Linked DNA regions of Homo sapiens: region 1 is linked to region 2. Evidence: promoter capture Hi-C in human tissues and cell types (Jung and others, 2019). All regions are on one chromosome and are shown on one strand. Each heading gives the region's core, a stretch centred on a gene start or on the middle of the fragment in contact. The rest is flanking DNA. Distances are from core to core; before and after follow the strand shown. Region 1 overlaps PDGFRA (platelet derived growth factor receptor alpha). Region 2 holds the start of FIP1L1 (factor interacting with PAPOLA and CPSF1).

Region 1 (4,164 bases), core at 539-3,038, 860 kb before region 2:
TTTTGAGACAGGGTCTTATTCCATCACCCAGGCTGGAGTGCAGTGGCCTGATCTCAGCTCACCGCAGCCTCCATCCTCCCATCTCAGCCTGCCACCCAACTGCCCCTCAGACCAGTAGCTGGGACTATAGGCCTGCACCATCATGCCCAGCTCATGTTTTTAAAATTATTGTTTGTAGAGACAAGGTCTCACTATGTTGTCCAGGCTCATCTTGAAATCCTGGGCTCAAGCAATCTTCCTGCCTTGGCCTCCCAAAGTACTATGATTACAGGAATGAGCCACCAAACCTGGCCTGCAACCTGTTTTATCACTGGGGTCTTTATGACCTGTATCTATCAACTCCTATACCAACTCCTTTCTCTCCTGTGACTACAAATGTGTAACCTCCTGGGAATGCAGCCCAGCAGGTCTCATCCTCTTCTTACCTAGGCCCTATTCAAGATGAAGTCACTCTGGTATGAACTCCTCTGATGCTAACTCATACAATGGAGTGAGCCTAATGGGACACAATTTGTTCCATCATTGGCTTTGGAAGCTAAAATATGTGTGCATGTGATTCCTGAGTAAACTGGTTTAAAAAAAAGAAAGAGTGAGAGAGAAATTCAATGTATTCATATATTGCTGTGTTTAGCCCTAGTTGGGTTTGGTTTGGTTGGAGGGGATCCAGGATCCAGAAGATAATAGCCTAATCAAAGTTTTTGGTGGGGCCTAATCATGTATTTCTACCGTAAGGTGGCCTACTTTGCAGAAATCAGATTTCTGTTTTATTGAATGCTACCAGGAAAATGGGAGAGGAAGAGAACACAGAGAAAAAGGTGGAAGGCTCCTCACAGGAAGGGGAGTGGGGTATGTAGAAAACAAAGTAAGAGAAGGAGAAACCATTATTTACTAAGCCAAAGTTTGCATGTGCATGCTGTGTTTGTGAAGAATAACCCTGTGATTACTTAGAGCTGATTTTAAGAAGTGGCAGTTGAGGCTCAGAGAGGTTTTGCAAATGACCCAAAGTCACACAGCCAGTGACAGAGCCAGGATTTGAACACAAGGTCGTGTGATACAAACGCCATGCCCTCTCCACTTCACCATATGGTCTCTCTCAAGGGAAGGTCAGTGTTTTAGCCATATCCCACCCCTGTGTGCCACCTACTTGCCTGACTATTTCCTAGGGCAAATTATACCTCCTCCTTCCATTTTCCTCCTTTGCTCACCACAGCAGGAGAAACACAATTACAGTGCTGTGAACCCAAATGCAATTCACACAATGCTGGCTGGCTGATGGCCTCCGAGGATCCTGACATGTGCCTGGGATGCAAGGCTTCCACACTGCTGCGGTGGCAGGCACAGTGGGCCCCAGAGCCAGGCTGGCCAGCCTGATTTACCACAATTAGCAGTAATGCTTGTGTGTTTGTACATATAAATATCAGCCTCCCACTGACAATCCACTCAGCAAACTTCAAACAAGGCCTCCAGAGCCAGCTTGATGTCTTTGGTTTTATCACATTTAGAACCCATATTTCTTTGGCAAGACTTGCCAAAGATGCATCTTTAAAGCTTTCTCCAGCTTAAAAGAAGGGCTCACTGCTTTTCCTGTGCAAGCTCTAAGCAGTGCTTTGCCCTGGCCAGACACTCCCAGATTTCCTTCAGTGCCTCCAGATACAGTGGACCCTCTGCCAGGAAAGATTATTTACTGACATATAAAGTGGCCAATGAGGCCGGGCGTGGTGGCTCACATCTGTAATCCCAACACTTTGGAAGGCTGAGGTGGGCAGATCACTTGAGGTCAGGAGTTCAAGACCATCCTGGCCGACATGATGAAACCCCATCTCTACTAAAAATACAAAAAATTAGCCAGGCATGGCGGCAGGTACCTATAATCCCAGCTACTCGGGAGGCTGAGGCAGGAGAATGGCTTCAACCCAGTAGGCAGAGGTTGCAGTGAGCCAGGATCTCGCCACTGCACTCCAGCCTGGGTGACAGAGCAAGATTCTGTCTCAAAAAAAAAGTGGGCAATGGAAACAGGTCCTCTGAGCAAGCCATCAGGAAGGAAGAGAATAAACATGTGTTTGTTGCTTAAGATTCCAAACCCCAATCTCTGATAACAGTGGTTCCCTGGGTAGAAATCAGGCCTGTTTGTGAACTTTCTTTTTTTCTTTTTTCTTTCTTTCTTTTTCTTTTTTTAGATGGAGTCTTGCACTGCCGCCTGGGCTGGAGTGCAGTGGCATGATCTCAGCTCATTGCAACCTCTGCCTCCCAAGTTCAAGCGATTCTCCTGTCTCAGCCTCCCGAGTAGCTGGTATTACAGGTGCCCACCATCATGGCCAGCTAATTTCTTGTATTTTTAGTACAGACAGGGTTTCACCATGTTGGTCAGGCTGATCTCGAACTCCTGACCTCGTGATTCACCCACGTCGGCTTCCCAAAGTGCTGGGATTACAGGCGTGAGCCACTGTGCTCAGCGTGTTTGTGAAGTTTCATGTCATTACTTATCTATAACTCAGACAGTTTACTCATGAATAATGGCAGTGCTTGCCCCACAGGGAGGTAATGAAGAAAAATGGGAAACATGGGGAATTTCCTCACCTATTAGACCTGTAGTGAGGCTCTCTGGGAGTGAGTCTTGCTGTTCCTGCCACTTTTATCTACTCTAAATGCTCATCCTTAATTAGTAACTGCTATTCTGGAGCTCATCTAAAGTCAGGTGTGCAAATATAAGTAACTGAAACTACAAATTCTGAGAAACATGGCACCATAAGAATCCGTGAGAACAACCCCCTTTGCAGGGAAGAACACTAGATTTCACCCAAATCTTTTCTTCAATCATAATTACTTCCCTCATGCCAACTACATGTTGAACTTCAGCCCCCATTCTCAATAATCACAGCTCAAAAAACATTTGCCATAACTTAGAGGAACAAACTGAGAAAGAGACCCCCCGCCCTGTTGACTCTCAGGCAGGTGACTTGTGCTTTTCCACCATCCTCTTGGCCTTCTTATGCTTTCTCTCAGAAGAAAGGATGGAAATCACATTGGACTAGCCACTGATCCCAAATCTGATACTCTATCCAACTCTCTGAACCTCAGTCTTTTCTTCTAGGAAGCACGACTACCAAGGCCTGACTGGTTGCTTGCCCTGTGGCATTCTTGTAAGGACTAAATTATATAGTTTAATTGAAAGTGCTTTGATTTTCACGACTTTTTCTGCAGACTCCCAAGATATTTTAGATCGGCTCCTTCAACTTCTCCTTAACTAAGAAAGTGAGGGATGCCCCAGAAGCCACATGACTTGCCCTGCACCTCCTACCTCCTGGAGACATGGATCTGAACTCTGATTCAGCCCACACCAGCAGTCCACTCCCATGACCCTGTTACCTCCAGCCTGGTGTGGCTATAAAGACCATTCAAAGATGAGCCAATATATACAGTCACAGAAACAGAGAAACAAATGACTTTGCAGCTACTATCCTTTCTCTTTAACAGGGTGCCATCTCCTGCCCTGCAAACAGAAGTAAAGAGCCATTGGACATGACTCTATAACCAAAGGCAATGTGCAAAGGTAGTGTAAACAGACAGTAGGCAATGCAAGGCTCTATTTCCAGAAGGACTAACAGCAAGACATTCTTCTCCTAAAGCCAGAGAGTTGGCTTCTCAATCACCAATTGCACAGTGCATCCCATTGCAGAACCACTGAATATTGAATTTCACCCCACCCTCACATGATTAAAGACCACAGGAGACTCTCTCACAGCCCCAAAAGCCACTGGTGACTTCAAGATTCAGATTTCCGAGGCTCAGTTAATTTCAGCTCTCCTAAGTTAATTCTAACTGTGAAAATTACACATTTTCCTTTTTCTACGCAGTCTCCTAACTTCAGCCCAGGCAAACCAAGTGCAGGTCTACACTGGTGGAAACTTCTCCCTGTTTTCCAGCAGAGGGTGTGTTTACCAGGACCTCTGCACCCTACCAGAGCCTGTTTTGTTGTTTTGATCTCCCGGAGCTCCATCAGACATTCCAGTAATGGGAGGGGGCTGGAGTGTTTTTAAACAGGAGCCTTTTATGGGACAATCTGGGCTCATAAACATGCCTGCTCTCCTCTCACCATATATTTAACCACGGGAGAATAAAATGACATATCCTTTTGAATATCACCAAACGGGTGTGACTCCTAAT
Region 2 (3,982 bases), core at 349-2,848:
AACTTCATTTTCATCTACCAAGTAAAATAAACAAATAAATAAATAAGCAAACAAAATAAAGAAACCACTCTTAAAGAAACTAGTATTATGAAAATCTGAAGTGATCATCACAAGCACTAACCTAGGTCCTTTGCCAAATCACTGTGCACATGCACGTCCCATGGGCCTATAAGCACATCCAAAGTTAGATCACCTTATAATTACTTAACAAGATACTTATTTTATGGAAAAAAAAATCAGACTTTACTGCTATAAAAATAAGCTTAAATTTAAGAGGTAATGAAGATTTCCAGATCTTTGTAAAAGAAATCCTACACATTCACATTTCAAAGAGTAGTAACTAATGCTAAATCTTGCCACCAAACGATTTTTTTTTACAAGTTTATCAAAGTCACATCATCAAGGACCTGCATGGTGCCCAAAGTGCACTTTTACTATTCTATTCTAAAGACAATCAAGAATATATGTTTTAGGCAAGGAACAAACATTAACTTTCAAATCTGGTGTTAACAAGCAAGAAGGGATTGTGACTTAAAGTTAAAAACCAGATGTCAAACAAGTACCCTTCTAGAGAGAAGTACATGATGCATTAAATTTATTTTGAGAAAAACAAATACATGAGATGACACTGAAAACTATAAGCCGAAGGGTCATGAGATACCTCCATGATGTAGGTTAAACGGTAGTCTCTTAAAAAAGAATAACTTCACCTTAATACAGGAGACATTCAGAGTTTTCTTTATGGGCCATCTTTCTCTCTCTCTCTCTTAATTAATTATTTTTAAAGCACGACTTTCAGACAAGGAGGTACCCTTGCAGGTGCATTCCATACAAACTGACCATCAAGAAACAAGACGTTAGTTGTACAGCATTAACTTTATTTAGCTATTATTACAGAATGACTGTTTCTGAAAGAAGGGACAGGAAGGGCACCCTAAGGCCACAGGGCAAAAACAGACACCAAAAACCACCACCTCAGAATCGACAGAAAAAAACAAGGGTAAAGAGCGCAGCAGCTAGGCGATCGAGACGCCTCGGGGAAAGCACAGCGAAGCCGGGGGCCAGGACCGGTCACAGCCCCCCAGCCCGGCCCGGCCGCCACAGGGGTGGATGCGCATGGTGGGCGTGGGCCAGGCGGGAGACCGCCGCGGGGACTGGGGGCACGCGCACGCCGCGCTCGGCCTAAGTCAGGCCGGACAGGACTCCCAACCAGAGGCCCGAAGCGGCGGCGCGAGAGGCCAGGGACGCCGGCCGTTTGAGGGCCAAGAGGGGAGGCCTGAGAGAACCCGAGAGACAGAGACAGGAAGTTTCGTACCGCCATAGAGCCACTCTTCCTCCTCATCCCCTCCGGTCCCGCCGCTCAGCTCCGACACTAGGCGCTCGACCTCGCCGGCCGACATGGCCGCCCCGAGCGCAACTTAAACGCGGCGATCAACAGCCCCCTCCAACCCCTTCCCCAGCCTCGCAGCCCCGAGGCGCGAGAAGGGCGCGAACCCGCCGACGAACGAACGAAGAAAGCTCGAGACTCCAATCCCAGGAAGGCGACGGCAGCGGCGGCAAAGATGAAGCCTCCAGCGCAGGTCCGTCTGCGCATGCGCAGGAGACCCAAGCGGCGCGGCGCGTATAGGTGGCTTCGCTTCCGCGGCGGCCACCTGGGCCTGGTTGCGCCTGCGCGCTGAGGTGGGCCCCGCCCCTCTAGGATCCCGGTTTGCTATTTTGCGTGGCTTCCTCCCGTGGCGTCCTGAGTCGGCCAGGGTTCCCCGCCCCCACCCTTCTTTTTAATAACCCGTATTGCCATTGCTGGCGAGTACACCATTGTTCCCTTCTACTCTTCGTGCTCTTTCTTCTCAACTTTTTATTTGTTTTTTAATCTTCAGAAAGGCCTTCTTTTATTCTTTAATCAGCCTTGATACAGAATCATTACCTGTCACTCCCTTTCCTCACTGAATAGAGAAGAAATCACAATCAGTACTATTTCTCAAAAAATTAATTTTCACAGCCAACAAAAGCAAAACTAATAGATGAAGAATGCACTCTCCTTGTTAAAAACCATAAATTACTGTCAAGGTCAAAGACCGCCTCATTCCCCTACCCTTCTCTCCGGAGGTAGCCCTTGCTACAGATGCATATCCTGTTTGGAGTTCATCATTCCGAAATTTCCTATACACTTACTTCATGTGTTGTGCTGTTTTGGTGGGAGAACCTGAGATTGACAAGTCTTAAATAGTACAGTACAGTATAGTATCATCCTTCGACTTCCTTTTTTTTCTTTTTTTTTAGCATCCGTGTCTTGGAGCTCTTTTTCATTTTAGTATGAATCAAACTATATCTATTTTAAGTGCTTCATAAAATTGCATAGTATGGCTATCACAGAGTGAATATGGCTATTTCTCCATTGATGTACACCCAGATTGCTTTTGACTTTACACTTTTAACTACAACAAAAAATGACAATGAAGATCCACACGGCTCCTTGCAGATTTGTCTGTTTCTCAAAGATAGATCATAAAGTATGTACAGTTTTTATTTTAATAGGTAAACCAAATGTTCAGGCCGCTTCTGAAAGCACATCTTCCAGTGAAAAGATGACATACCATGGTTCAAACTGGAGCTCTAGGTTTGTCTAGGTTTTTTGTTTGTTTGTTTATTTATTTGAGGCGGAGTCTCACTCTGTTGCCCAGCTGGAGTACAGTGGTGCGATCTCTGCTCACTGCAACCTCCACCTCCTGGGCTCAAGCGATTCTTCTGCCTCAGCCTCCCAAGTAGCTGGGATTACAGGCACGCACCACCATGCCCAGCCAATTTTTGTATTTATAGTAGAGAGGGGGTTTCACCATTTTGGCCAGGCTGGTTTTGAACTCCTGACCTCAGGTGATCTGCCCACCTTGGTGTCCCAAAGTGCTGGGCTTACAGGCATGAGCCACCACGCCCGGCCTGTTTTTTTGTTTTGTTTTGTTTTGTTTTGTTTTGTTTTGTTTTGTTTAAAAAACAGTCTTACTCTGTAACCCAGGCTGAAATGCAGTGGCAGGGTCACTGTTCACTGCAGTCTCTACCTCCCAGACTCAAACAGTCCTCCCACTTCAGCCTCCTGAGTACCTGGGACTACAGACAAGCAGGTGCCACCACACCTGGCTAATTTTTTATTTTTTGTAGAGACAATGTCTCACCATGTTGCCTAGGCTGGTCTGGAACTCGTGGTCTCTAGCAATCCTTCCACCTAGGCCTCCTAAAGTGCTGGGATTACATGTATGAGCCACCAGGCCTGGCCTCAGTTCTTCATTATACCTAGCAGGTTGTATAGTCAGGCAATCAACCTTTCTATGCTTCAGTTTTCTCATCTATAAAATGGAAAGGCCAAGTTAGATGATCTCTGAGGTCTCTTTCATTTATAAAGTTTACAAACAGGGCATTCGCTTGTCAACAGAGAGAAATCCATTTTGATTGAACAACTAAATGAGTTTTCTTGCTCCTTGATGAATAAATATTGTTTTATCATTTATTTATTTAGCAATTACAGAATATCTGCTCTGTTTAAGAACTTGGAAAATGAAGACATGAGTGAAACAGTCCCACCCCTTAAAGAACTCTGAAGTTATTGAGAAAGACAGAGGGGCAGTAAACAACTCTCCTACAAGAGAAGAGGTGAATGTGTTGTAATAGAAGCACAAATGAAGGGTTTACGCCCAACCAATATCTCACATTATTTAAACAAACCATGTGGTTTTAATCTTTCTTACCTTTGAACACACTTCTGCCAGCTATTCCCAGCTCCCTTATCTTTTTATGATAATCTCTTGCATCCTTCTAAACTCTCTGGGGGTATAATCACCTTTGTGAAATCTTTCCTGAATCCCATTTTATCTCTTCCCATTTGTTTTGCCAGGAACTCTTCCAGCTATGTAGATTCAACAGTGAATAAAACAAAGTTCTTTCTTTTGTGGAGCTTTGATTCTAATAAGAGAGTCAGATAATAAACATATGA

The links. The method cuts DNA at HindIII sites, captures the fragments that hold promoters and counts their contacts. A contact is called where the count stands out against the background at its distance.
Region 1: a fragment that was not itself captured here is called in contact with the fragment with the promoter of FIP1L1 in region 2 in 1 of the 25 tissues and cell types used here (IMR-90 fibroblasts).

What each region holds. Positions count from the first base shown.
Region 1 is chr4:54,234,813-54,238,976 of GRCh38, reverse strand. The region is part of intron 1 of PDGFRA (platelet derived growth factor receptor alpha); the gene reads right to left. Among named protein-coding and RNA genes, the nearest start is that of PDGFRA, 7.6 kb to the right of the region's middle. The HindIII fragment of the contact is 8,516 bases long and covers 1-4,164 here.
Region 2 is chr4:53,375,257-53,379,238 of GRCh38, reverse strand. FIP1L1 (factor interacting with PAPOLA and CPSF1) reads right to left here and starts at 1,598. Exons shown (of 18, transcript NM_030917.4): 1 at 1,316-1,598; 2 at 122-166; 3 at 1-14. The coding sequence starts at 1,400. It overlaps LOC105377654 (a long non-coding RNA gene), which reads left to right and starts at 1,499. Exons shown (of 3, transcript XR_007058118.1): 1 at 1,499-1,580; 2 at 3,509-3,642. RefSeq lists a silencer at 1,021-1,110 and enhancers at 783-1,331, 1,271-1,390, 1,441-1,530, 1,332-1,880. The HindIII fragment of the contact is 6,649 bases long and covers 1-3,982 here.